Linked DNA regions of Homo sapiens: regions 2, 3, 4 and 5 are each linked to region 1. The links are contacts of gene promoters, found by promoter capture Hi-C in human tissues and cell types (Jung and others, 2019). All regions are on one chromosome and are shown on one strand. The core of a region is centred on a gene start or on the middle of the fragment in contact, and the rest is flanking DNA. Distances in the headings are between cores, read along the strand shown. Region 1 holds the start of GUCA1B (guanylate cyclase activator 1B). Region 2 overlaps TRERF1 (transcriptional regulating factor 1). Region 3 overlaps TRERF1 (transcriptional regulating factor 1). Region 4 has its middle 25 kb from the start of CCND3. Region 5 overlaps TRERF1 (transcriptional regulating factor 1).

What was found. Contacts are between HindIII fragments. The study calls those that stand out against the background at their distance.
Region 2: a fragment that was not itself captured here is called in contact with the fragment with the promoter of GUCA1B in region 1 in 3 of the 25 tissues and cell types used here (adrenal gland, mesenchymal stem cells and pancreas).
Region 3: a fragment that was not itself captured here is called in contact with the fragment with the promoter of GUCA1B in region 1 in 1 of the 25 tissues and cell types used here (IMR-90 fibroblasts).
Region 4: a contact is called between a fragment that was not itself captured here and the fragment with the promoter of GUCA1B in region 1, in 2 of the 25 tissues and cell types used here (H1 embryonic stem cells and spleen).
Region 5: a contact is called between a fragment that was not itself captured here and the fragment with the promoter of GUCA1B in region 1, in 2 of the 25 tissues and cell types used here (dorsolateral prefrontal cortex and spleen).

What each region holds. Positions count from the first base shown.
Region 1 is chr6:42,193,497-42,196,212 of GRCh38, reverse strand. It overlaps GUCA1B (guanylate cyclase activator 1B), which reads left to right and starts at 1,257. Exons shown (of 4, transcript NM_002098.6): 1 at 1,257-1,599. The coding sequence starts at 1,393. The HindIII fragment of the contact is 9,949 bases long and covers 1-2,716 here.
Region 2 is chr6:42,326,210-42,328,909 of GRCh38, reverse strand. All of the region lies in intron 3 of TRERF1 (transcriptional regulating factor 1), which reads left to right. Among named protein-coding and RNA genes, the nearest start is that of MRPS10, 110 kb to the right of the region's middle. The HindIII fragment of the contact is 6,647 bases long and covers 1-2,700 here.
Region 3 is chr6:42,377,445-42,380,148 of GRCh38, reverse strand. The region is part of intron 2 of TRERF1 (transcriptional regulating factor 1); the gene reads left to right. Among named protein-coding and RNA genes, the nearest start is that of TRERF1, 73 kb to the left of the region's middle. The HindIII fragment of the contact is 7,127 bases long and covers 1-2,704 here.
Region 4 is chr6:41,965,722-41,968,421 of GRCh38, reverse strand. It overlaps a transcript of CCND3 not described here. Among named protein-coding and RNA genes, the nearest start is that of CCND3, 25 kb to the right of the region's middle. The HindIII fragment of the contact is 3,497 bases long and covers 1-2,700 here.
Region 5 is chr6:42,431,944-42,434,708 of GRCh38, reverse strand. The region is part of intron 2 of TRERF1 (transcriptional regulating factor 1); the gene reads left to right. Among named protein-coding and RNA genes, the nearest start is that of TRERF1, 19 kb to the left of the region's middle. The HindIII fragment of the contact is 3,553 bases long and covers 1-2,765 here.

The DNA of each region.
Region 1 (2,716 bases), core at 8-2,507:
AGGCATGAGAATCACTTGAACCCGGAGGCGGAAGTTGCAGTGAGCCGAGATCACACCACTGCACTCCAGCCTGGGCGACAGAGCGAGACCCTGTCTCAAAAAATAGAAATTTAAAAAAAAAAAGCAAAGAAAAAGAAAAATGTGTGTCCCTGGTCTTTTGATTTCTTGGAGGTGTCATTTTTATGTTACATTAAAATAAGCATGAATATGTAATTGTTCAAAAGCAAATTTTACATGACCTATAATGTAAAAGTAAGAGCCTTCAAAGATATTTTAGGCCATGCTCCCAGATCCTTCTCACATGTTAGTATTTTGGAGGAAATGTGAAAAAGGCACTACCCCTAGGTCTTGTGTGAAGGGTTGGAGGGAGGCATTTGTAGTTTAAATCAGAAAGTGAAAAGCTCCCAAGATGAAAGGTGTAATCTGGAAAGGAGCTTCAGGGACCGAGTTAGCCTGGGAAGAGAGTTGCTCACCTAGAGCCCTTCCCATCATAGATTCTGCCTCTTTTCACTAGACCGTCTGAGGGGCGAGTCCCAGATCACCAGCAGATTCTGTTTTATGGCCTAGGACTTGATCTCACTTCCTCTCTGGATTTGAGTCTCCTGTCTCCAAGATGGGCCTCCCTGAAGCAATGTGAGGCCCAGCTAAAGAGATAGGGAGTGAGTGAGATGGGAGGATCCCAGCCTAGCACCCCGACTCTTTCTTCACTCTGCATCTCTCTGCTTACCTCTCAGTTTCTTCCCCTTCTACCTCTTCAGAGTCTACCAGGGCCAGCTTGGTTGCTTTGTTGACAAGGCTAAGGGAAGGAGTGAGGCTGGAGGAGTTTAGGCTGGAGGTCAGAACTTCCTGGGGAATCTCTTTTTTTTTTTTTTTTTTTTTTTTTGAGACAGAGTCTCACTCTGTCCCCCAGGCTGGAGTGCAGTGGTGTGATCGCAGCTCACTGCAACCTCTATCTCCCAGGTTCAAGTGATTCTCCTGCCTCAGCCTCCTGAATAGCTGGGATTACAGGTACCCACCACCATGCCCAGCTAATTTTTTGTATTTTTAGTAGAGACAGGATTTCACCATGTTGGCCAGGCTGGTCTCGAACTCCTGACCTTGTGATCCACCCACCTCGGCCTCCCAAAGTGCTGGGATTACAGGCATGAGCCACCGCACCCGGCCACCTGGGGAATCTTCTAATAGTCTTAGGGCAGCTTAGCTGGCCTGGACCCACCTCCCTTGCCACCTGCCCCCTGCACCGACTGATCATGTTCAGTCACCCAGGAGATGATGGAGAGGCTGATCAGGCCTCCTGGAAAGGGAGGAAGAGGGCCCTAGTTGGAGAGATCCATCAGCAGAAGCCAGGGAGGAGATACAGACCCTTGCTCCCTGATGCTCCTCAGGGCTAGCATGGGGCAGGAGTTTAGCTGGGAGGAGGCGGAGGCAGCTGGCGAGATAGATGTGGCGGAGCTCCAGGAGTGGTACAAGAAGTTTGTGATGGAGTGCCCCAGCGGCACACTCTTTATGCATGAGTTTAAGCGCTTCTTCAAGGTCACAGACGATGAGGAGGCCTCCCAGTATGTAGAGGGCATGTTCCGAGCCTTCGACAAGAATGGGGTAAGGCACCCTGAAGGGAAGGACCAGTGGCCAGTCCACCTGGCGCCTTCCTCCACAAGTGTCCTCAGGGAGAGCTCCCAGTTCCCCACTCCTCGGCTCTTTCTCTGCTCTTCTTTCCACTCCGTCTCTCTTTACCTTTTCTGTCTCACTCACCAAACCCTTCTGTCTCTTCTCTTCCTTTTGTCCCTTTCCATCTTCTCTGTCTCTCCTTCCCTCCCTCCATCTCTTAGCTGTCGGCTGATGCTCCCTGTGTCCTCTTCTTGAGAGCTGAAGGGCGACTGGCAGACAGTCCAGGTCCTCTCTTTGTGTATTTTTGACCAAGACTCTGCAGCCCAATGACCGGGTTTTCGCATCTGCCAGAGCCCCTGTCACTCTAAACACTAGGAGCAAAAGAGATGTTCTAAATGAGACAAGGTATCTTAGCATGGGCTATGAGCTCCCTCTTGTTGGGGTTCTTCTGAGACTGGTCAGATCCTCCCTGTCAAGAATGCTGGAAGAGGCTCCTGCATGTATTGGGAGACTGGGCGAATGACTGCAAAAGCCCCTTTCAGCTCTTCAAGTCCTGGAAGGTTTCATTAAATCATTCAGACTAGAGTTTCTCTAAGCCCACAATGTCACTAGCAGCTAAGAAGATAACACATCTTGTAAATGCACCAGGGGATTGAATTTTAAATTTCAATTCAGTTAAAAACCCCTTGATTATTTAAGGTTATCCAGTTCAGTGCCCTGGCAATCCTCAAATACCTCAAATACCTCAAATGCCCTGGTATTTGCCTCAAATACCAATTTAATCTGAAGAAAGTGTCAGTTCTCCATTCCTCAGTGCGTGGAGAACTTAGCTTTCTAAGCTGAATCACTGGGAATGCCACTTCAGGTCTCATCCTGTCGCTGGTACCAGTCAGTGCACGTCCCCACAGTGCCTGTCCCGGGACAGGAGGGTGAGGTCAGCACCTTCAATTCAACAGAACCTCCTTAGAGATGAACCCCATCGACCACCCCACAGGGCACAGAGCCAGTTTCGGACTTCTCAGCGCTCCGCCTCTCTTAGGTCTCCTCTGAATCAGCAGCAACCCTGGGTGGGAGGGGCAGACTTTTGTTATTCCAAATTAAATGATGA
Region 2 (2,700 bases), core at 33-2,532, 130 kb before region 1:
GCTGACTGGGGTGGATGCTGGTAAATTTCTCTCAGGTGAGCATGAGCTGGGGGCCTTCCAGGATCAGGGTGAATTGGAGCCTCATTTTCCCCAGCCGGTTGCCCATGGCCTAGAAAGTAAACTCAGTTTTAGAAATGTGTGAACAGTGCTGTAGGGATTTTTTTTAACTTTCAGCAGAGCAGATTCTTCAGCCCTATTTAAGATGCTCTGAACAAACCTTCAGAGTGGCCCTTAAGACTCTGCTTAGCATGGCATTGCTGTTCAGACAGACAACTCCACATTTCCTCCCAAAAATTAGGGCTAGGAACCAAATACCGCATGTTCTCACATGAAAGTGAGAGCTAAGTGATGAGAACTCATGGACACAAAGAGAGGAACAACAGACACTGGGGCCTGCTTGAGGGTGGAGGCTGGGAGGAGGGAGAGGAGCAGAAAAAATAACTATTGCCTCCTAGGCTTAGTGCCTGGATGATAAAATAATCTGCACAACAAACCTCCGTGACACCAGTTTACCCACATAACAAACCTGCAGAGGTACTCCTGAGCCTAAAATAAAAGTTGTTTTTTTGTTTGTTTGTTTGTTTTTTAATTAGGGATAGTTGGCTGGGCACAGTGGCTCATACCTGTAATCTTAGCACTCTGTGAGGCGGAGGCGGGCAGATCACCTGAGGCCAGGAGTTCAAGACCAGCCTGGCCAACACAGTGAAACCCCATCTTTACCAAAAAATACAAAAATTAGCTGGGCATGGTAGCGTGCACCTGTAGTCCCAGCTACTCAGGAGGCTGAGGCACATGAGAATCGCCTGAACCCGGGAGGCGGAGGTTGCAGTGAGCCAAGATTGTACCACTGCCCTCCAGCCTGAACAACAAAATGAGACCCTGTCTCAAAAAAAAAAAAAAAAAAAGAAAGAAAGAAAAAGAAAATTAGGGATAGTAATTGGGGCATGAAAACCATAATAAGGTGGATTGTGATAATTACAAAACTACCACTTCCTCTGGCCCTCAAACACACCGAGTTCACACCTGTCCATCTCCAAGCCCTCACCCCCACCATGCCTTCTGCCTGCCCTGCTGTTCCCCAGCTCCAGGAGGGCTGACTCCTTTCCTTCACTTAGATCTTGCTCCAATGGTGCATCCTCAGAAGAGTCTTCTAAAACAACTGTTCTCTCTCCTCTTATCTTACTTGGTTTTCTTAGCAGTTACAACCTCAGCAATAACAGTACCAACTATGTTCCAGACAGTGTTGTTAAAGCTTTTCGTGTGTGAATGCATTTGATCCTCACGTTAACCTTATAAAAGAAGAAGACTGTTACTCTGCAGACAAAGAAACCAAGTCCTAAGGGAGGTTAATGGGATAGCTCGGCACTCGGAGTTATCTATTCAGTAAACGTTTATGGGGTCCTCATTATGGACTAGGCTCTGTGCTAGGATCTGGGGATACAGAAGTCATCATCTTTGCATTCCAGTCATCAGCAAACCAACGTTCCAAGACCAGATTGGGTCAATGACTCCTCTCTGAGACCCCGGACAAATTGCCTACACAGATACCTGTGCTTTATTTTACCCATCTGTAAAAGGGAATTAAAGGGACAACCCCCAGCTCCTCCTCTGGGTTGGTTCTTGTGAGATATATGGGTGAAACCACTTTGGGACATGCACAGTGGGGCACAGATGCAGGATGTCACTGGGTATACTTATTCTGGGACCAGGGAACAACAAGCACATCCCCTTCTCCTACCTGGATGAAGGAATGGTGGAGAATCAGCCACTATTGACCTCTATCCTGGTGGTATTAAGTTTATCAGATTCCCCCCACCTCCCGCCCTTACTTGTGGGCATTGTATAACATCAGAGGATTCTTAGATGTCTCAAGGATTCTGACTAGAATCTCAAAATCATTTTTTGGCCTGCTGCTAGAAGAGATACTATGCTTCTACACCTGGCCAGTAGGATTATGGCATTTGAGGCAACAGTCCCGTATGATTGGAAGTGGTTGGTTATATTGTTTGGAAGAGGTGACCACCCAAAAGTCCCTTGTCTGTTGATGGCACCTTTTGAGGAAACTGTTCTGATTCATTATTAGGCTACCAGTCTGGCTGTTTAATTTTCAACAGTTCCAACAGCTGTTGTTATTCTGGAACCTAATACAAGAGCATTGTTTTGCTTTCTATCATTTTTGCCAAGATCATTAGTTAAAAACAAGCTTGTGGTAATAGATGATACATTGGTGCATGGTGGAGAAACAGCCCCATGGAAAGGGAGTCTTGCTCCTTGTCACTCTCCTGAGATGGGCTATAAAGAATGGAATGATCAAAGCTTAGAGCAAAGCAAGCCAGGGTGTCTGGCCCCATCCTCCTGGATTATATGTGAGGGGAGGCTTTGGTCTCCAGTTCTTGCCCTGGGCCCCACCCACCTTTCTGTCATTCATGTTTTGTTTCCTGTGTCTAATTTGTTGCATGATCTGTTAATAACCAAACATGCCCTCACAAGTTGGGAAATATTTGCAGAGTGATAAAGCAATTGTGTTATAATCTCCCACTTTCCAAGAGAGACGGGCGTCAGACCTGCACACTCTGAGAAGCATCCAGGCTTTGGAACCTACTGATTCTGTGTTTCATTTGATTCATTTGCATTGCTACCACCCTCATACAGGCCCCTGTCACCCCTTCCATCCAGCCAGCCAACTGGCAAGCCAGTCAC
Region 3 (2,704 bases), core at 194-2,693, 180 kb before region 1:
CCTCGGGGCCTTTGCACTTGCTGATCCTTTGCCTGGAATATCTTCCCCCAGGTATCTGCATGGCTGACTCCACTCTTCCCCCAGAGACCTCTGCCCCAACCGTCGTAGATAAAATGCCCTCCTTCCTCACCATTCTCGATCCCTCTCCTCCTGTATTCCTTTTCTCTAGAGCCTTTATCACCGTCTGGCATGGCATATAGATATTTATTTAACTCTTTCTTTGTCTCCTCCCTGTGGAACGTAAACACCAAAACTTGTTCTGTTTTGTTCACTACTCTGTCCCCAGAACCTACAACATGCCTGGCACAGGCTGGGCGTGATGGCTCACACCTGTAATCCCATGTCATCCCAGCACTTTGGGAAGCCAAAGTGGGTGGATCGCTTGGGCTCAGGATTTCAAGACCAGCATGGGCAACATGGCGAAACTCTGTCTCTACCAAAAATACAAAAATTATCCAAGTGTGGTAGCACACGCCTGTGGTCCCAGCTGCTTGGGAGGCTGAGGTGGGAGGATTGTTGATGCCTGGAAAGTCAAGGCTGCAGTGAGCTGTGATTGCGCCACTGCACTCCAGCCTGGGTGACAGAGCGAAACTCTGTCAAGTAAATAAATAAATAATACATGCCTGACATATAGTAAGTGCCCAGTATCTATCTGTTGAAAGAAGGAAGGGAGCAAAGGTGGGAGGGAGGGGAGGAAGGAAAGATAAACACAAATGGAAATGAAAGGCCTCCAGGCCCTTGGTTTTAAGGATGGTTTGATTTGGTTAGTCTCCTCTATAGGAAAAGGACACAGTGGGCTGGGGTGGTGGAGACTCCATTGCTTTCCATTGGCCATGTGGATCCATCTCTTTGGCATGGTAGGCTGGCAACATTTCCTGAGCTCCATTCATCCTGCGTGGCCCTTGTACCTACCATGCCTAGACTCCCTTTTCTGGCAAGGAAAAGACAGGTACTAGAAGATGAGCTGAGGACCCAGGGAAAGACTGTGGGGGGTGGTACACACAAAATATATTAAAAAAATTTTTTTTTGAGACAAGCCCTCACTCTGTCACCCAGGCTGGAGTGCAGTGGTGCCATCACGGCTTACTGCAGACTCTACCTGCTGGGCTCAATTGATCCTCCCACCTCAGCCTCCTGCGTAGCTTGGGACTACAGGTGCATGCCACCATGCCTGCCTATTTTTTTTTAAATTTTTAGTAGAGACAGTGTCTTACTATGTTGTCCAGGCTAGTCTTGAACTCCTGGACTCAAGCAATCTGCCTGCCTTGGCCTCCCAAAGTGCTGGGATTAGAGGTATGAGCCACCGGCCCAGCCTACAATATATAAATTTTGGTTGTGTTCATAAAATTGGGAGGTTGGGAGGGGAAGCTGAAAGCTCCCAGGTTTAGGTCCTGCCCCTTTTTTGTGGGTAGCCTTGGACAGTTACTTCCCCTCTCTCAGCCTCAGCTTCCTCATGTATAAAATAAGAATTGGACTAGGCATCGACTCTCCTAGGGATCCATGCAGATGGGCTTCGGGGGTCTTTGCCTCTGACAGACAAGGGCCAGTGATCTAGGTTGTTCCCAAGGTCCCTTCTAGTACTGAAATCCATGTAGACCTCTGCATTTGAAATTCTGCCCTCTTTGGATTGAATATCAGCTTTTTGATGAAACCATGACTTTCTTGATATGCTGAAAATAAAGGTGACAGTTTAAAAAAGTAAATATTTAAAAAGTTTTCTCAGTGCCGGTTACTTTAGTAAATGTGGGTTTTTTTTTTTTCTTTTTTCTTCTTGGTCTCAACCTATAAGCAATCACAAGATCAAACAAGTTTCAGTTTGAGTTCCCTCTGCTTGACAGTCTGAGCCTGTATCGCCTCGACTTATCAAGTTTGCTTTCAGCTAGTCTGGCTGTTTTGGGGAGGCCTTATCAGCCAAGTGTTCAGCCCTCAGCGTAGGAAGATATGGTCTTGGGCTTTCTTTGGAAGCTGGTACCCCTCATCCGCTTATCTCCACCTCCCTTCAACCCCTCACCTGCCCCTCAACCTGGCCAATGAGCTGTTATAACACAGCAGTAATAGTCCCACTAGCTTTGGGAAGATCACCAAATTCTTCCCCCTTCCCAATCCCTTGCCTCTTACCCAGAACTAGTTACATAATTTACTGAGCTCAGTGCAAATGAAAATGTGAGGCCTCTTGATTAAAAATCATTAAGACTTTCAAGATGGTGACAAGAGCACCTTCAGCAAGCATGGGGTCCTGTGAGACCGCACGGGCTGCATGTTCCTAAAGCCAGTGCTGCCCTTGCCACTTCCATCTTAGGTTACCAGGACCAACCATGGAGATGTATATAACACAATTTGAGAGGCACTGAACATTCCCTCGGAAGGAATTTGAGTTATTTCTATCATGGCCTGTGAGATTCAGGGCTGCTATCCTGAGCCACTGTGCGTTTGGAAAATCCGTACAACTGGGTAGGGAGGGTTTGGACAGTGCCCATGAGTCCTGGTAGAAGGGGCAGAGAAGGATGATTTATAAATGTTCATACTGCCCAAGCAGCCCCACGGATGCTGACAGCATCATTTGTTCTGTCCTTTACAAAGTATTTTCATGGATAAATGAAATGTGTTATATCCATACAATGGAATGTTATTCATCCATAAAAGCAGTTGGAGTACTGATACATGCTACAACATGGATGAACCTTGAAGACATTATGCTGAGTGA
Region 4 (2,700 bases), core at 196-2,695, 230 kb after region 1:
CTTCATATCATAATAATTTTGTAATATTTTCCATAGAATTAAAAAAACCAGTATTCCTCTAGCATGATTGATTATAAACTTTTTCTATTATTGATAGTCCAGAAAAGCTTATTTCAGCTTCAGAAGTCATTATTGGTAATGTCATAAAGATATTAGGATTAGTGTCAAATTTGGGACATCAAAGTTTCTTTCATATATGAGCTGTGAGATTTTAGGGCATTTTTTTCCAGTGCACAGTGATTCATTGAATTGATGACACTTTATACCCCATTTGCTGTTAGCTAAATGTTATCTTCATTGATATCAGCATTTTGTGTCAAATCAGCAGGAAATTCTACTCTTTCCCCATACTGCTTCTCCTCTCCTACCACTTTAGTTGGAATGAAGATGGTTTACATTCAGAAAAGACTAATAATTAAACTCCCTTCTCATAAATGTCTGACCTTTTAAAGGGAATTTATTACAAAATCCTGGGTGCAAAAACATTTGAAGCATTTAGAATGATTTGGCCTACTCAAGGGAAGGCTGGAGAAGGCAAATAAATAACCACCTTGAAGGATGTGGACATTAGTGGGGGTTAGAACCACCAGGGTGTGTCTGAGACTTTGATTCTGGGGACTGGGGAAAGAATCACGCAGCTGCATAGTTAACAGGTTCTGCAAGTCACTTTGACGCACTAAAATTGATACAATGGATAAGAAAGTCTGTGAGTGAGAACAGCTAAAAATTGCCTCAGTGTGGACTCCAAGTGTGATCTTCACTACTCAAGGTGTGTCCCAGCAGCTGCTGCGGGAGATGGATAGAAATGCAGATTCCCGGGCTCTACCCGGAAGCGTTGAATTAGCATCTGCATTTACCAAAGTTCCAAATGATTCATGTGCAGGTTATTGTCTAAGAAGCCTGGACTAGAGAGTTGAGAAGGAACTTGCTGATATGTCCTGGCCCAGCTCCTTTTATAGATGAAGAAATCGAGGCTTAGTCACTTGCCCAGTGTCATAAGTGACAGAGGTAGGAATCAAATCCAGGGATATTTGATTCCAAATCTTTCAGAGGGAATCAGTAAGTGCTTGTTGAATTACTTATTAATTTTTCATTCAAGCATTCATTAATATTATTATGTATTCATTGAAGAGACTTAGGGTAGGATGAAAATGTGGCTGTCTAGCCTTGGTGACTCTGCTGCCCTGGGAATAGGAAGGTGACACTCCTCCGCCTTCCCCCTTTCAAAATGCCGTTCTCCATGACTCAGCAAAGGAACCATGGGTCTGAAACCAGAGGTGAGACAAAGAAAACCTCAAAAATGTTTTGTTTTGTTTTTTTCCTAGAGGAATTTCCTTTCATGTCATTCATTCCTCTGCTAGGGAATCCAGGAAGCCTTCGACCTATGGTTAGCCGGCACTTAAAACAAGGCCTGACACAAAGCATGCTATATAACTATTGTTATATTATTATTAATTATGGAGCAGTTATTAATACCTAGAGACTTGCGTCAACTTGTGTTAAACTTCTCTTTCCATTTGTTCTAGTCTCACCCCAGAATTTGTGTGAATTCTCAATTATTCATGCTGTAGAGGGCTTAAGGGGTCAACTGCAAATGAGTGAATAAATTAATAAATCAAAAAGCTTGGGTTCCCCTCTAAAATGAGATTATTGTAATGGATGAAGAGGCATGACTCAGTAGATGGTTGATTTGGGAATAACCACATCCAGTCTAGAAGGGAGCTGACCCTCAGAATTTCTAGCTATGGGATAGACAGACCTGCCTAACTAAGAGACAGTTTACTGATAGACTGTGGTAAATTCTGTATGGAGATATACAGACAACAGAAGGAGAACATAATTCCTGGTTCGGTGGGGAGGGGAGGGTGTGCTTGTGGTTCTCAGCCCTGGATGTGTTTCGGAATCACCTGGAGATAAACATATAGAACCTGGGCTCCATGCCTAAGATTCTGATTTTCAGTTCTGGGAGTATAACAGGGCCATCAGAATTCTCTTTTTTTTTTGAGACAGGGTTTCACTGTCGCCCAGGCTAGAGTGTAGTGGTGGCAATTATGGCTCATTGCAGCCTCGACCTCCTGGGCTCCAGGGATCCTCCCACCTCAGCCTATAACTGGGACTACAGGCATGCACCACCATATCTGGCTGATTTTAGTTTTTGTGGAGCTCGGATATCTCTGTGTTGCCCAGAAGGTGGCCATCAGAATTAACAAGCTTACCAGGTGATCAGGACCTGAAGCCAAGCACTAAACATAATAATAACAGCACATACTATAAACTGGACATCTTAGGTATTTTCTCTTATTCTCATAACCATCCCTAAATGCAATTTATATTATCCCCATTTTACAGGCAGGAACACTGAGGTTTAAGTAATTTGGCCAAGGTCACACAGCACAGCCCATATTTTAATTAAGCTCTCAGTCTAAAGGCCTAAGTTATTTTGCCATATCCCATACAGCAGGAGGTCAGCCTGGAAGAATCTTCCCAGAAATTTAAATTAAGATAATTAACTCAGATGTAAACTGTAAAATCTGTACATAATGGGTCAGACAAAGATATGCAAGCGGATTTAAAGAGACACAAAGGCTCCGAGCTAGTGAAAGTTCGACCTTAACCCTACGGCATCGATTAACATATCAAAAGGAAGAATGTGTCCTTTGGGGTGGGAGGGCGCTTGGGCCAGTTAGTCTGATACTTTGT
Region 5 (2,765 bases), core at 176-2,675, 240 kb before region 1:
TGTGTGTGTGTGTGTGTGTGTGTGTGTGTGTGTGTGTGTGGTGGAGGGTGTCTGCTGGTGTTCCAGTTCTCCCAGTTTTTGTTTGTCGGAAAATGCGTTTTATTCACCTTCATATTTGGGAGATTTTTTTCCCCTGGAAAAAAATCTTTATTCACCTTCATATTTGGGAGATTTGGGCTTGTTTTATTTTCTTTCAGTCCTTTGGAAATGTCATTCCATTGTCTTCTGGCTTCCTTCATTTCTGTTAAAAAGTCATCTGTCAGTTTTATTGTGGTTCTTCTGAAAGTAACATATCTGTTTTTTCTCTTTGGCTTTGTTTTTTTTTTTAGCAATTTTACTATGATGTACATAGGTGTGGTTCTCTTCATATGGATCCCCTGTGGAGTTTGGAGTGCATCTGTAAATCATGGCTCTGTGTTTTTGGTCAGTTTTAGAAAATTCTTGAAGCATTGTCTTCCAATTTTGCTTTTGCTGTTTAATCCTCTCCTCCCTTTCTCAGGCTCCTGCACATATGTTAGACCCTTTCATGGTATCCTACATGTCTCTGGAACTCATTTCTGTATTTTCTGTGCCTTTATGTATTTTTTTCTACTGACCCATCTTCCACAGCACCAGTCATTTCTTTTACTATTCCTTTTTGTTGTCAAGCACATCTATTCAGTTCTCTCTTTTTTGAAAAACAGAGACAGGGTCTTGCTCACTCTGTTGCCTAAGCTGGAGTACAGTGGCACAAACTTGGCTCACTGCAGCCTCAAACTCATGGGCCCAAGTGGTCCTCCTGACTCAGCCTCCCGTAGCTGGGACTGTAGGTGTGCTCCACCATGCTTGGATAATTAAAAAAAATTTTTTTTTTGTAGAGATGGGGTCTTGCTCTGTTTATCCAGGCTGGTCTTGAACTCCTGACCTCAAGTGATCCTCCTGCCTTTGCCTCCCAAAGTGCTGGGATTATGAATGTGAGCCACCATGCCTGGCCCTTGTAATTTTAAAGTTCTGGCTGACAACTTCAATATTTGGATACCTTCTGAGGTTTGTTTTTATTGATCGTGTATTTTTGTTGGTTTGGTCCTATTTCCTGACATGCTTGGTGATTGTTGTTTGAGTGCTGGGCATTTTACCGTGGAAAATGTAGAGGCTCAGTTAAGGCTGGTATATTTTTTATTTGCCCTTACCTGTACAATGGTACAAGAAGGCCTTGGTAGGCCCTGATTTCAGAGTTTCATCTGCTTGCCACTGTAAAACTACCAAAGCTCTGCTTAATGTGCTAGTGTTTTAATAGCTTTTTTTTTTTCTGTTTGGATTCCTAGGTTTTAGCTCTGTGCACAGAAGACTTAGGTGTGTGTCAGTGCCTTGAGGAGAAATCGCTTGCAGAACATTGGACTCATTTCTTTGGGGTTCACTTTTTTTTCTGGTATCTTGGGCTCTTAAATCTTGGATATGTTCATAGCCCTGAACTCCAGTTTTTGTCTTCTCGGCCCAGGGAGAAAGCTGCTGAAAGCTTTCATTTACTGCTTTCTGTTTTGCCTCTGTGTTCCTTGCACCAGATTAGCAAGTGTCCTGAGGGAAAACAGTAGCTACTAATACATGGCTCACCTCACTGCACCTCCCTTTCCTCTAGGAGCCTGGTCCCTCAAGTCCCAACTGCCTTGTTGTATTTCCACACCTTCAAAATGTTATTATTATAATTATCTTGTATTTTATCTATCTTATGTAGCTGTTCTGTACCAGAGGACTAGTTTAATATTCACTGCCCCATAATACCTGAAAGCGAAGTCTAATTTCGTATCCTTTATGATTAACATTAGAAGTATTTTCCATGTCTTTAAACATTCTTTAATTCTTTAGGTGACTTTTTTTTTTTTTTTTTTTGAGACAGAGTCTCACTTTGTCTCCCAGGCTGGAGTGCAGTGGCATGATCTCTGCTCACTGCAACCTCTGCCTCCTGGCTTCAAGCGATTCTCCTGCTTCAGCCTCCTGAGTAGCTGGGACTACAAGGCGCCTGCCACCACGTCTGGCTAATTTTTGTATTTTTAGTAGGAACAGGGTTTCACCATATTGGCCAGGCTGGTCTCAAACTCCTGACCTCAAGTTATCCACCCACCTCAACCTCCCAGAGTGCTGGGATTACAGGTGTGAGCCACTGTGCCTGGCCCATCATGTGATTTTTTAATATTTGCACAAGCTCCCTGTTATGGCTTTTATGATCTACTCACATTTTCTTCAATTGTCAGATACTTAGGTCATTTCACACAGTTTGCTTTTATGAATAATACCGCCACAAATGTCTTTGTATATTTTTGCTGAAGCATTTTATTCATATTTTAAAAGTGTGGAGTAGAAATGATCAGAGTTGAAAATACTAATCAGTAGTGATTGTTTTTATGCATATAGCATGTACAAAAATAAAACTATAGACCTTTTCTCTCTTGGATGGTTCAGAAAGAAGCTTTCCTTTTTAAAAAGTATTTTTATTTCTTGAGAAATATTCATATAATGCTCACCACGTGCCAGACAATTCTTTTACATGCTGTATAATACTGACTTTAATTCTCCCAAGAGCCCTAGGGCACAGGTATTATTACTGGTCCTCTTTTTTGAGAAGAGGAATCTGAGGCATGAGGGAATAGGTCACTTGCCCATGGTACAGTTGTCAGTGGCAGAGCTGAGCCATGCATTCTGACCCTAGAGCCTGTACTGTTAACTGCTATACTATACTACCATGAGCTCATCGTTCTCATTTATTATCACTTTCTTTCTAACCATTTTAG